Regions from separate parts of the Homo sapiens genome. Here all the other regions are linked to region 1. The links are contacts of gene promoters, found by promoter capture Hi-C in human tissues and cell types (Jung and others, 2019). All regions are on one chromosome and are shown on one strand. Each heading gives the region's core, a stretch centred on a gene start or on the middle of the fragment in contact. The rest is flanking DNA. Distances are from core to core; before and after follow the strand shown.

Region 1 (3,193 bases), core at 617-3,116:
GGGTTATGGAGGAAGCCACAGCAAATTTTAAGCAAGAATGTAACAAGACCAGTCTTATGTTTGGACCTAACTCTGGTGGCAGAGTGGAGGACGAAATGCAGGAGAGGCTGGAGCAAGCAGGCAGGCATGTATCCTTAAATGAGCACCATTCACTTTTGGACTAGAAAGGAAGTCTGAATATTAAGAAGTGTAAGGGCCACAGGGTCCTAGGCAGGCAGAAAAGCAAAGGGTTCCAGCTGCAGGAGGATACAGGGGGGTTCCTTCTCAGTTCAGGAGTGTGGTCTCGGACTGGCATCTTCAGCATCACCTAGGAGTTGTTAGAAATGCCCATTCTCAAGCATCATCTTAGAAGCAGTGAGGGAACCTTGGGGATGGGGCACACAAATCTAGCTTTGAACAACTTTTCCAGGTGATTCTGATGCATGCTAAAGAACCACTGCTCTAGCCCGCCAAAAATCATGTCTCAGGTGGTAAAGGCTTAGAACTGCACAACTTACTGTCTTTTTTAAAAAGAACGAGGGTAATGAGAAATGGGTTCCTATGTTGAGTGGGGCAGAACAAAAGCCACATACAACCTAGATTTTACGTAGTGCCGGAAAAAAAAATACTGACCATCTTGTCCAAAAGTCTCATATTTGGAGAATTAAAATAGTTTTGGTCGAGGCCATGATGTTCTCGGTAACCTAAATTAATTTATAAAATTCTTTGTTCCCTTTATTTCCCACAAAAACACCCGCAGCAAAAACGCTGGGATTCATCTGGGCCCTCTGAAAACCGTGTTTCCGACGCAACCGCCCATTAGAAAAACACAATTCCAAATTAAAAACCCGGAGAACTGAGCGGCGGGGCTGGCGCCACCGTCCCGGGACAGCGCGGCCTTTCCCAGCCACACCCCTGCGCGCCGCCGGCCTCCTTCCCCGGCAGTTCCCAAAGATAAATAAATGCTCCTTGTTTTTCCAGACCTGAAATTAACGGTGACTCACAGAGCACTCTGCATGGCCACGGTCGCCTCGGGAAGGAGGAAAAATGTGCAGACTTTTTTCCCCTCACGCGAGGGCAGGACAAGCCAGACTGGGCCAATCAGGGGAGGGCGGCGGGAATCGCACCAAAGTAGGTAAAAAATGCGGGAGGCGTCCCCGCTGCCGCGGCCCGCGACTCCGCTCCCGTGGGTCCTCCCCCAGTGCGTTCCCCCTCCTCGGGCCCTGCCCTCCCAACCCCCAACATCTCTCTCCTTCCACCACTGTGTCCCTCTCCCTCACCTCTCCCCTTGCCCCCACCTCCCCCACTAAGTGCCCCCTCGCCCCTCCCCCCACATCCCCCTCCTCTCCCCACACTGTCCCCTCTCCCTCACCTCTTCCCTCCCCTCTCCATCCTCCTCCTCCCCCAACTATGTGCCCCTCGCCTCTCCCCTCCAAATCCCCCTCCTTCCCACACTCTGTACCCCTCTCCCCCGGCTCTCCCCTCCTTTTCCCCTCCACGGCCTCGCCCCGCCCCAGCGGCAGGCACACCTGGCCAGGTGGCTGCCTCCCCGCGCGGGCCATGCCTGCACAGTGGGTGGGGCGTCAGGTGGCCCCGCCGAGGAGGCGAAGGAAGGCCACCCCTCCCCCATCATCTTTTGCCCGCCCCTCGCCAGCAGGAGCCAGCCCAGTCCGCCTTCTAGCCTCCTGCAGACCAGAGAGGACGCACCCCCACCCCTAAACACTTTCTGGTGAGGCGGACCCTGCCCCGCAGCCTTCAGCAGATGAGGGAAGCTCCCCTCCGAGACTCTGGATAGCCGCCGGGGGGGCGTTGCCTGGCCGGCTGGTTGCGTAGCAACGGCAGGCGGTGCGTGACGTGCGCAGCCGCGTTCCGTCCTGAGGCGCGCCCGCCCCGGGGTAAGCTCGCGCCGCCGCGTCAGCTCAGCGCTGGGTCTCTCGGTCCCGCAGCCGTGAGGAGGACGGTCTGCATACTCGCTGCCCGCCGGCTCCCTCCCCCGCGTCCCTGCGACCGCCGCGGCGAAGATGGTGAGTAGGAGGGAGGCCGAGGCGTGGGCCGAGGCGGCCGGGAGCAGTGTGTCTCTGGGGCGCCGCGGAGTCGGGGCTAAGGGGGTGAGCCGTGCCTCAGCCCGGGGAGGGACCCGGTCCGGCTGCAGTGTCCGGGCTGCGGGTGAGGGGGGGTCTCTGGGCCTCCGTCTCCCGCCGTCCTGGCTGGGCCCCCGCGCCCCGGGGTGGATCCGCGGCTGTTGCGCAGCTCCCAGCTGGGGCGAGGCCGCCGCCCTGAGCGTGGCCTCTGCGGGTGTCTCCAGACCCGGCCTTGCAACAACTGGCTGGGGTCGAGCGCCCCCACCCGCTCTGTGAAATCCATCCGGGGGTCTGCACACCGAGGCCGGGGAGTGGGGGGCGGGGGGCGTCGGAATCCGGCCACCGTCCTTGTTGGCGTGGGTTTCCCCAGAGCTGGCGCTGAGGCGCTTGGTGACTTGTGCGCGTTCCAGCCCTTGAGGTCTGTCCATCTCAATAAGGAAGATAAAGCCTTTATGGAACAGTCCTAGAGCACGGAATGATCGCTAACGAGCAGGATCCTGGCATGATTTAGAACGGGGTGGCCTTGCAGCTCCTTTGTTTTTTTCTTTTTATCTGGCAATCGGCTTCCAGCAGCACTCTCGTCGTGCTTGTCAAGCTTGGCAGTGTCTGTTTTAACCCTTCCCTGCCCGATCTGTCCGTGTATGGTTAGAATTTTTTTTCTGACCTGTAGACAGTTGGACTCTGCCAGAACTTGGTGCGCAAGGTGTGGGCATGATGCTGGGATGCTGATACAACCAAATTTAAGAGCTTTAAAAACCATTAAAATACTGGAGTCACCAGAAAGTAAACAGGTGCTCATTAGTATATTCTATATGATGGACATTTTGCTTAATTTACATATTTTCCCCCTTTACACTGTCACTCTAATTAGCTATTTAAAAACGTATTCTCAACTGAACTATCAGTTGGAACATTTTGTCGTTTTCGTTAGTGTGCACACACTGTTACCATTTTTGGTCAGTGATTTGCAGGCGTAGCCTTACCAGACTTTGCTAGAAATATTACACTGTAATTGCATCTGTCTAGAAGCAGTTGGTACCAGCTTATCTGCATACAAACTGTTTTCACTGTATAACAGTTTTGGTTTTCTTAAGTTACTACAACTTCCGTGAACATGCAGGCGGCCCCTTAGT
Region 2 (3,693 bases), core at 236-2,735, 850 kb before region 1:
TTGAAAACATGGTTTGTGTGCTGTCAACTGTTTAGGGTGGAGAAATGGATTCTACAAAATCTGCTTCCCACCTCTGATTTCAAAATATTGAAGTAAATTTCACATTTCTTGTAGGCAATTAAAAAGGACAAATGTTGAAATTATATATCACTAGAAAGGTCTTTATGATCCATGTAACTTGGTGGGTAAATATTTTAAAAATCTCTTAAGTAGTAAATTTGACAGAGAGGGCTTCTTGCTTCCAAATATTAATTTTTACTCTTCGCCTTCAGATAGCAAAATCTTGGGCAACATCTCCTGCCAAGAAACTACATTTCCTGGCCTTTTTGTTTTTTAAACTTGGTGAGCCCATGTAACTGAGTTCTAGCCAAAGTAATACAGATGGAAGTATAGTTTTGAAGCCTACCTAAAAGAGTGGGGGCTAGGCACAGTGGCTCACACCTGTAATCCCAACATTTTGGGAGGCTGAGGCAAGAGGATTGCTTCAGGCCAGGAGTTTGAGACTAGCCTGGGCAACAGAAGGAGACCTCGTCTCTACAAAACAGAAAAAGAAATACAAAAATTAGCTGGACATGGTGGCATACGCCTGTAGTCCTAGCTACTTGGGAGGCTGAGGAGGAACACCTGAGCCCAGGAGTTCAAGGCTGCAGTGAGCTATTATTGCAGCCTCGGTGACAGAGCAAGACCCTGTTTCTAAAAAAAAGAAAAAAAAAAAAGACAGTGGGCAAAGCCATTCTCCTTCCTTCCTGCCTGGAACTTCAGCAGCCATTTGGGACTGTGAAGTCACCTTTTGAATGAAAGCAGAAAAATAGACCAAGAAAATAAAACGGAAAAGTAGAAGTTCTCTCAGTCCATGAAGACTTTGTGGAACAGCCTTGAACTGCTGATCTTCAGGTGTCTTTTACATAATAATCCTTTGTGAGTTTCAGCCACTGCAAATGAGTCTCTGTTGCTAGTAGTTGAACACAGCTCCCCACTGATGTAGATGGATAGAAATGTAGAATCCATACTTTCTCGATCTAAAGATTAAGAAGTCCATGGATTCTGATGGCGTTTTCTTCTTCACGGGATCCCCAGTGGAGAGGGATGTGCAGTCTACCTCTGTGCTTGGCTTCCTCCACTATTTGTGACTGTAACTATCAGGCTTGTCCAGTTTATTCCCCTTCCCTTCAGTTCTGGGTTGATCGCAAGACTGTGGGGAAAATAAGATGTATTAATGTCTCTCTTCACATAAAAACTGCAGACTCTGTTATGGCCTGTATATCAGAGGCATCCATGGAACAAAAGGCTCGAGGCACCTTGAGGAAAGTCATGGTGACCCCCACCCATGAAGAAGTGTGAAAAAGCCATTCCTCTAGAAAGCCCATGAAACAGATGATATTTTCTAAAAGTGGCTATAAGAATATCTCTGGTCCCACGCAAACTTCCAGAAATGTTCTACTTCCCTCATCAAGACTAGAATCTACGTCCCCTCCCTTTCAACCTAGGAAGGTCTTTGTGACTATCTCAATTAATAGAAGACAGCAGAGGAGATACTACATGACTTTCAAGACTGGGTCATAAAAGACAATACAACTTCTGCCTAGCTCTGTGTCTAGGAACAGGTATGTTTCTAACCCTGTAAGAAGCCTGCTACCATAAAGTCACCATACTAGAAAGACCACACAGAAGTAAAGATGCCCATGAAATTCAACTGCTCCAATCTGTTTAAATATTGATGGCTCAGATACCAAACATAGGAGTGAGGAAGTCAAGATGATCCTAACCCCAGCCACTGTCTGACATGAGAGATCCTGAGCACCAACCACCTAGCTGAGCCCAGTCAACCTTCAGAACTATGGTCAGGTGTGGTGGCTTATGCCTGTAATCCCAGCACTGTAGGAGGCCGATGGGGAGAATGCTTGAGCCCAGGTGTTTGAGACCAGCCTGGGCAACATGATGAGACTCCGTCTCTACAAAAAATTAAGAAAATTAGCCAGGTGTGATGGTGTGTGCCTGTGGTCCCAGCTACTCAGGAAGCTAAGGTTGGAGTTTCCTTTGATCCCAGGAGGTCAAGGCTGCAGTGAGCCATGATTACGCTACTGCGCTCTAGCCTGGGTGACAGAGGGAGGCCCTGTATCAAAAAAAAAAAAAGAAGAAGAAGAAAAAAACCAAAACTCCCAGAACAATGAAAGATAATATAAAATGATTATTATAATTTTGAATCACTGATTTTTAAGATGATTTGTTCACAGCAATGTAAAACTAGATCAGCCCAACAAGCTGAATGCCAGGTCTCTGAGATGCCATTTCTTCCTGCCCTACATCTATGCTTAGATACCTGCAGAGGTGTCTCTGGTAGGTGGTCCTTCCCAGTTCACCTGAACACCTCCAGTAACAGAGATTCACTATCCTTGGGAAGCCTGGATAATTTTTTATCTTCTCTAAAAGCTGAAATTCTGTCTCCCTCTGGCATCCACCTCTTGTTCTTAGCTCAGAGGTGTGGGCCCATTCAGAGCAAGCCAGATTCCTCCTCCACAAGCAATCTTGAAACTACTTAAAGACATCTTTCTTGCTTCTTGTGGGTTTTTGCTTCTTTAAATACTAAGTATGCTTTTTTATGTCATTAATCTCTTCGTGAGCACCCCTGAGGAGCTAAGAGTGAGAGAAAATGGTATGAAACAAAAAGCTTTTTGTGCAAAGAAATCTCCAGATTTCTAGATGTAATAGAAGGTGAAAAGGCAAGATGTGAAATTATGTATTCACTAGAATTATAATTATGTAAAATAAACCTATGAAATAGGCTTCAAGGAAATATCCCCAATAGAAATATTTAACTGAAAGTGTGATTTGCTGCCTGATTTTCGAAACTTTTTATACCATTGTTAAATTACTTACATATAATGCATTTGAGATCTTCTGAAGAGGGAAAGGATGCTTTTCAGCCTAGGGAAGGTGAAGACACTAATGAAGTCTTTCATTTCATCCAGGCTTTCCAGGCTTGCCAAAGTGTGCCACACTTACTCTCAAGGGCTTTTACCACATCTACAAAGAAACAAAATGAGTGTATTTAGTGCCCTTGCTCAAGGTCAGTCAAGCTGACCTATCAGGTGACTGCCCACAAGTCAGTTTATCCAAACAAGTAAACCAAATTCACTGTTCCAAGACCATCCGATTTTTCTCTCCCTTTTCTCCTTTCTCTTATAAATCCTGTATTTGCCTTGGTTCATTGGACGTCTATGGATTATCTTCCTTGTAAGAATAAAATTTGCAAGCAAAAAACTAAAAATCTCTTTTTAAAAAAAATATAAAAAGAAAAGCAAACCTTCAATGACTCCCCCTTTTTTAAAAAAATTATTTTACTTTAAGTTCTGGGATACATGTGCAGAATGTGCATGTTTGTTACATAGGTATATGAATGCCATGGTGGTTTACTGAACCTATCAACCCATCATCTAGATTTTAAGCCCCACATGCATTAGGTATTTGTCCTAATGCTCTCCCTTCCCTTACCCCCCACCCCCCGATAGGCCCTAGTGTGTGATGTTCCTCTCCCTGTGTCCATGTGTTCTCATTGTTCAACTCCCACTTATGAGTGAGAACATGTGGTGTTTGGTTTTCCGTTTCTGTGTTAGTTTGCTGAGAATGATGGCTTCCAGCTTCATCCATGTCCCTGCAAAGGACACGGAACTCACACTTTTGTATGGCTGCCAT
Region 3 (3,329 bases), core at 298-2,797, 580 kb after region 1:
TAGCCCTGCATGTGTGGCACCTAAGGATTAGATGCTTAGTTCTGCACATAATTAAGTGGATTAGTGATAATCTAACGAAAGTAAAAAAGGAAGTAAATTCTACCCTGGGAATATTCCAAGATACCGTCCGTCCTTTGTTCGCTCTGTTCCCCACCATTCCTACTCAGAATATAAAACAGAAGAAGCTTTTCCCCCCTCAAGATTAACATCCCTAACCGTGCTGTTCTCCCACCTCTTGTTTCAATTGTGTTTCAGGTCGTCATGTTGGCAATGTACAACTTGTCTCTGGAAGGAAGTGGACGTCAAGGTTATTTCAGGTGGAAAGAAGATATCTGTGCTTTTATTGAGAAACATTGGACTTTTTTACTAGGGAATAGGTAATGTGTTTTTAAAAAATCTTATACTTCAAGGAATATGTAAAGAATGAAGTATACAGGATTTGAGACAGCCTAATGTAGACTTGTTAGAGATTTATTTTAATTTTTTTGAGATAGAGTCTCCCAGGCTGGAGTGCAGTGGCATGACCATAGCTCACTGCATCCTCAACCTCCTGGGCTCAAGTAGTCCTCCTGCATCAGCCTCCTGAGTAGCTGGGATTACAGGTGTGCACCAACATGCCTGGCTTATTTATTTATTTATTTATTTTTTGGAGGCAGAGTCTTGCTCTCTCCCCCAGGCTAGAGTGCAGTGGCGTGATCTCGGCACACTGCAACCGCCACCTCCCGGGTTCAAGCGATTCTCCTGCCTTAGCCTCCTGAGTAGCTGGGATTACAGGCACCTGCCACTATGCCCAGCTAATTTTTGTATTTTTAGTAGAGACGGGGTTTCACCATGTTGGCCAGGCTGGTCTTGAACTCCTGACCACAAGTGATCTGTCTGCCTCGGCTTCCCAAAGTGCTTGGATTACAGGCGTGAGCCACTGCGCCTGGCCTTATATTTTTGTAGAGACAGGGGTCTCGTGTTGTCTCAGGCTGGTTTTGAACTCCTGGGCTCAAACAGCTCTCCTGCCTTAGCCTTCCAAAGTGCTGGGATTATGGTGGGTGTGAATCACCGTTCCTTACCTTGTTAGAGATTTAGAGTGTTTACTTGTGGCAATTACGAAAATTTTTGAATTCCAGAGAATATTTTTACTTTTTTAAGATTAAAAAAAAAACTTGGCTGGGCGCAGTGGCTCATGCCTGTAATCCCAGCACTTTGGGAGGCCGAGGTGGGTGGATCACCTGAGGTCAGGAGTTCAAGACCAGCCTCGCCAACATGGTGAAACCCCATCTCTACTAAAATACAAAAATTAGCTGGGCGTGGTGGCAGGCAACTATAATCCCAGCTACTGAGGAGGCTGAGGCAGGAGAATTGCTTGAACCCAGGAGGTGGAGGTTGCAGTGAGCCAAGATTGCGCCATTGCACTCCAGCCTGGGCAACAGAGTGAGACTCCATCTCAAAAAAAAAAAAAAAAAGATGTTTGTTTCAACTGAACATGACGTTTTTTGAAGAAATTCTTAGAATGTTAAAAAATAAGAGTTGTATTACATGAGACTGTTCAAGAGTTGGATAAGTCAATATTTCACTTGAGGAGATAGGGTTATTATATTCTTTTAAGCTGTGTGTGGTGGGGCATGCCTGTTGTCCCAGCTACTCAGGAGACCAAGGTTGGAGGATCACTCGAGCCCAGGAGTTTGAAGCCAGCCTGGACAGTATAGTGAGACCCCCATCTCTTAGAAAACACCAACCAGGCTGGGCCCGGTAGCTCAGGCCTGTAATCCCAGCATTTTGGGAGGCCGAGGCGAGCAGATCACCTGAGGTCTGGAGTTCGAGACCAGCCTGGCCAACATGGTGAAACCCCATCTCTACTAAAAATACAGAAATTAGCTGGGCTTGGTGGCGGGTGCCCGTAATCCCAGCTACTCGGGAGGCTGAAGCAGGAGAATCGCTTGAACCTGGGAGGCGGAGGTTACAGTGAGCTGAGATGGGGCCACTTCACTCCAGCCTGGGTGACTCAGCGAGACTCCATCTCAAACAAACAAACAACCAACCAAAAAAAGAACCAAAACAGAGCAGTGCCTTCTAGGAGGACAAGACAGGAAAAATAATGGCAGTTACTGACTGCATCTATTTAGGTTGCCCTTAGTTAATAGAGTTTTGTATTACTAGTATTTGTTTTTAACTCTGTAAAGTAGACACTCTTTTTTATTTTTAACTATTTTTCATAGTGCTTAGCAAAGTCTGGGCACATCTGCATGTGGCTTGTTCATTGGTCACTGTGTTTATCATTGCGCTTTGAGTTTGCTGCTGTGTGCTCTCCCCAGTGGCTGCTTTGGTGCATTAGACTCGGGGATGCCGATGCACAGACCTTGCGACCATATATTTTCACTAAATGTCCACGTGGATCTATCAAGACTTTTATTGCTCTTGGGTACTTGTGAGTTTGCTACCACACTGGTGAATTTTTGTTTGAGATTCTGATTGTTAGTTGCTGTCTGAAGTCCTGTGTGAGATTCATGAATCTTACATAATGAGGTTAGTTTAGACATGACAAAGTCTTTGATCACTTCAGGTCAGGGCAGGGAGTTCATGCCTTTCCTCACTTGGGGTTCACTGCAGCCTCTGTTTCTTCAGAAGCTGAGGAATCACAGCTTTGCTCATGTTACTGAGAGTACGGGAGGGTAGTCAGAAGGAGGGTGACCTGCAGGCTGCTGTGAGAAAATGGAATAGACTCCCTACATTTTTGCAAAAGGGGTTATTTTAGTTCTTGAGCTATTTATTGGTGCTAAGAAAAGAATCGACACTATAACTGGTTCTTTCTCATAAGGAAAAGAAATCTGTTGTTTAGTTTAATGATTTAGCACTATTTATGGACCTTAATGTACCCCATTTATAAGGGATAAGAAAGGGAAAAAACTGATAAAATTGGATCTTGGAATGTTTTCATGATCTTCGAGTGCTGTCCTATTTAGTGGGTTATCTCCTGGAAAAAATTAGATTTAGATTGCCTGTTTTTAAAAATATTGCTGGATTTTAACAGAAGTTGTTTAAATGCTTCATTTGTTCATTTCTAGAGCATGTTCTGAGAGGAATCAGCTGAGCCTTATTTCTTTTTAACATGCCAATGAAAGGCATTAATTACTCTCCAGTTTCTGTGTAGTTTATTTAGTGTGTTGGCCATATTGGTATATCACCGGAATTATTATTTATTTGATCTTCCTATTTAAATCAAGTCACCTGAAAAATACATTAATTTTAAAAAGAAACTTAACATCACCATGGTAAGTGGGAAACCTATATAAATTGTCATAAGTAGAATGTAACAATAAAAATAAAACAATGCTGTTAAA
Region 4 (3,525 bases), core at 459-2,958, 770 kb before region 1:
TGTTATTTTTTGACTTTTTATTAATAGCCATTCTGACTGGTGTGAAATGGTGTCTCACTATGGTTTTGATATGCATTTCTCTAATGACCAGTGATGCTGACCTTTTTTTATATGCTTGTTGGCTGCATGTATGTCTTCCTTTGAAAAGTGTCTGTTCATGTCCTTTGCCCACTGTTTAATGGGGTTGTTTGTTTGTTTCTCATAAATTTAAGTTCCTTATAGATGCTGGATATTAGACCTTTGTCAGATGCATAGTTTGCAAAAATTTTCTTACATTCTGTAGGTTGTCTGTTTACTCTATTGATAGTTTCTTTTGCTGTGCAGAAGCTCTTTAGTTTAATTAGATACCATTTATCAATTTTTGCTTTGCTTTTGGTGTCTTTGTCATAAAATCTTTGCCCATGCCTATGTCCTGAATGGTATTGCCCAGACCCCATTGTCTCAGTCCAAAAGTGTCTTAAGCTGATAAGCAACTCCGGCAAAGTCTCAGGATACAAAATCAATGTGCAAAAATCTCTAGCATTCCTATACCACCAACAGTCAAGACAAGAGCCAAATCACAAATGAACTCGCATTCACAATTGCCACAGAAAGAATAAAACACCAAGGAATATAGCTAACAGGCGAAGTGAAAGATCTCTACAAGAAGAACTACAAACCACTGCTCAAAGAAATCAGAGAGGACACAAACAAATGGAAAAACATTCTATGCTCATGGATAGGAAGAATCAATATTGTTAAAGAATCAATATCATGAAAATGGCCATTATTCTCAAAGCACTTCATAGATTCTGTGCTATTTCCATTAAACTTACTGTTGACATTCTTCACAGAACTGGAAAAATTATTTTAAAATTCATACGGAACCAAATAAGAGCCTGAATAGCCAAGACAATCCTAAGCAAAAAGAACAAAGCTGGAGGCATCATGCTACCCAACTTCAAACTATACTACAGGGCTACAGTAACCAAAACAGCATGGTAGTGGTACAAAAACAGACACATAGACCAATGGAAGAGAATAGAGAACCCAGAGATAACACCACACACCTACAATGATCTGATAACATGAGTAGCAATTCTAAGTAAGGGGACAGAAGGAATAAATAAAAAGCCTGAGAAGTCTGTTAGACCTGATATAAAATAATAAATCAAGAGAATGAAAAATCAATATGGATTTACTGCACAAGCTCATCTGGAATAAAAAAGAAGCAATTAGTGAAAAGAGCCAGTACAGTTTTAAAGAGACAAAACAATGAGAATAATGTGCTCCTCCTTCTAATATAAAAATAAACTGGATAGCTATTAAGATTAGAATAGCATTTCTCTGGTTGGAACCCTGACGAACAGCTCAATAAAAAATAATGAGTCCCAAAAGACACCCTAATTTAAAAAAAATGCTCAAAATAGGATAAAGGAAACATCACAAATCAAGAATGAAGTAGCATAGGGTGAGAAAGCAGATTGTTGTTTCACATTATATGCCCAAATAAAATCTAACCAAAAAGAATTAATGGAAACAAAACAAAAACAACAATTTTGTGATAAACTAGAACAGTATATGACTTTTAGCTGGATTTCAGTGGGAAATGGCTTCTTTAGCTTTAAAGTGATGGAAGAATTTACCACCACTCAGCCTTGCTGCGTTGCTCCGGCTGTGTTGGTCCACTCCGGGCACAACTAACTGATCACAAGGTGTCAGGGACTTTATTTCATCTTAATAAATTGTCTCCTGGCAAGTCTGAATGAACAGATTAGGACCTGATGTCTTAAAACAATGTTTATCATACTGTGATCAGTAAACCAGCTACATCTGAATGTCCTGAGGTAAACTGTTACATAAATAAATAAAAAGACAGAAATGTTTTAAAAAGATAAATTTTTAAGGAATTCTAGATTCTGTCTTAGGTATGTTGAATCATTATCTCTTGGACATACAAAATCAAAATAAGCTCAGGACACTACGCATTTTAACCACATTCTTAACACAATAGCAAGTTTTGAGAATTACTGGCTTGACAGAAGCACTGTTCAGTGGACCAGAAGGAGAGGCTTTAACAGAGATACTAGAACATAGTGGTGGTATCTCTATTGTGCCCTCCTAGGGATGCCCGGAGAAAGGTCCTGGTTTCTCATCAGGACAAGTCAGATTCTCTCTGAGTATGATAAACCTGCCCAGTCCCTGTCTCCCCTGCCTTTCTTTCTGGGTTTACAACCTGCAATTGGCATGGTTTGCTGAAAACCAATGGTTAGAGCGTAAAATAGAAATCTCTGTATATATTTTCTAGAAACAGCCTCCATCATTTGGATAAAAAGTGGTAATCGGCCATTTGTTACCACTGACTTTTGTGAGAAAATTACTGTTGAGTACATCTAGAACAATGAATTGACTTGCTCAATCTTCGTTTAACCTTCCTTCTAAGTTTGAGAGGTTTGAAAGCCAAACACTGTATTTTTCAGATTTCTTTGCCGTTAGAGTTCTGGAAGCAACTTAAGCTTTGTGATTAGATTGACTCACATGATGTTTGGATCATAGGAATGAGGTGAAAGCATCTTCCTGCATACGTGTTGGCTGAATCTGTTGGGAAACAAGGAGATTCTGAAGCATCTTGCCAAAAGACTACTGAGTTTTCTGGCCCCATAGACACCAGTGGCTTCTCGAATTTGGGAGAACTCCAGGGGTGGTCTCTGGGCCGGTAGTTTCCCTGGTGGGTCGCTTCTGCAATGTTCCAACAGCTGATGATTCCTGAAGCCCAGCCCAGAATGTGCTCCTTTAGGTTCAGCAGTGACTTTGTAAATGTCTGTATTAAATCCTTCCCTGCTTAAAATAAGCAGGGTGGGTTCTGTTCTTACCCCAAACTGTAATGGATACAACAATAATCAAGGGTTTGGAGAGTTCATCGTTGAGGTGTCTTGACTGGGTTTTAAATTTGTCAGTGAAACTGACAAATTTTCTTGAAGAAGTGGTAAAAGCTATTAATTTTATTAAATATTGGTCCATAAATATGTATCTTTTAAATTATCTGCATGATGAAATGGGAAGTGTGCAGAGAGCACTTCTGCTGTACACCAAAGTACAACATTCATTCAGAGGAAAAACTCTTGTCTGGTTGTTAGGGTTGTGAGGGTTGTAATCACTTTTTTTTTGGTGGAATGCTATTTTTACTTGAAATAACTGACAGATAAAGTAAGGTTATTCAGATTTGGGTGTTGGGTGTTTTCTAAAAAATAATCAGAATGAATGTGTCATTTCGAGGAAAACCAGTTGGTACTTGGTGAAAAAATACGAACTTTCAAGCAAAAACTAGAATTGTAGGAAATGTGTATTCACCACAGTGAGCTTGACATTTTCTTCACTTAAAGACTTTTCTGATATGATTAGTGATGAAATTACTACACACATTTTTTTTTTTTTTGAGACAGAGTCTCGCTCTGTCGCCCAGGCTGGAGTGCAGTGGCACAATCTCAGCTCACTGCAAGCTCCGCCTCCCGGGTTCACGCCATTCTCCTGCCTCAGCCTCCAGAG

What was found. Contacts are between HindIII fragments. The study calls those that stand out against the background at their distance.
Region 2: a contact is called between a fragment that was not itself captured here and the fragment with the promoter of DSTN in region 1, in 1 of the 25 tissues and cell types used here (dorsolateral prefrontal cortex).
Region 3: a fragment that was not itself captured here is called in contact with the fragment with the promoter of DSTN in region 1 in 1 of the 25 tissues and cell types used here (lymphoblastoid cells).
Region 4: a fragment that was not itself captured here is called in contact with the fragment with the promoter of DSTN in region 1 in 2 of the 25 tissues and cell types used here (heart left ventricle and mesendoderm cells).

The regions. Positions count from the first base shown.
Region 1 is chr20:17,568,209-17,571,401 of GRCh38, forward strand. DSTN (destrin, actin depolymerizing factor) reads left to right here and starts at 1,867. Exons shown (of 4, transcript NM_006870.4): 1 at 1,867-2,003. The coding sequence starts at 2,001. It also overlaps a transcript of BFSP1 not described here. RefSeq lists an enhancer at 830-1,397 and silencers at 1,808-1,997, 2,018-2,307. The HindIII fragment of the contact is 11,187 bases long and covers 1-3,124 here.
Region 2 is chr20:16,717,139-16,720,831 of GRCh38, forward strand. No RefSeq gene overlaps it. Among named protein-coding and RNA genes, the nearest start is that of SNRPB2, 11 kb to the right of the region's middle. The HindIII fragment of the contact is 3,736 bases long and covers 1-3,353 here.
Region 3 is chr20:18,150,566-18,153,894 of GRCh38, forward strand. It overlaps KAT14 (lysine acetyltransferase 14), which reads left to right. Exons shown (of 11, transcript NM_001392073.1): 4 at 256-377. Among named protein-coding and RNA genes, the nearest start is that of PET117, 14 kb to the left of the region's middle. The HindIII fragment of the contact is 4,437 bases long and covers 1-3,329 here.
Region 4 is chr20:16,797,672-16,801,196 of GRCh38, forward strand. No RefSeq gene overlaps it. Among named protein-coding and RNA genes, the nearest start is that of OTOR, 51 kb to the left of the region's middle. The HindIII fragment of the contact is 3,462 bases long and covers 1-3,439 here.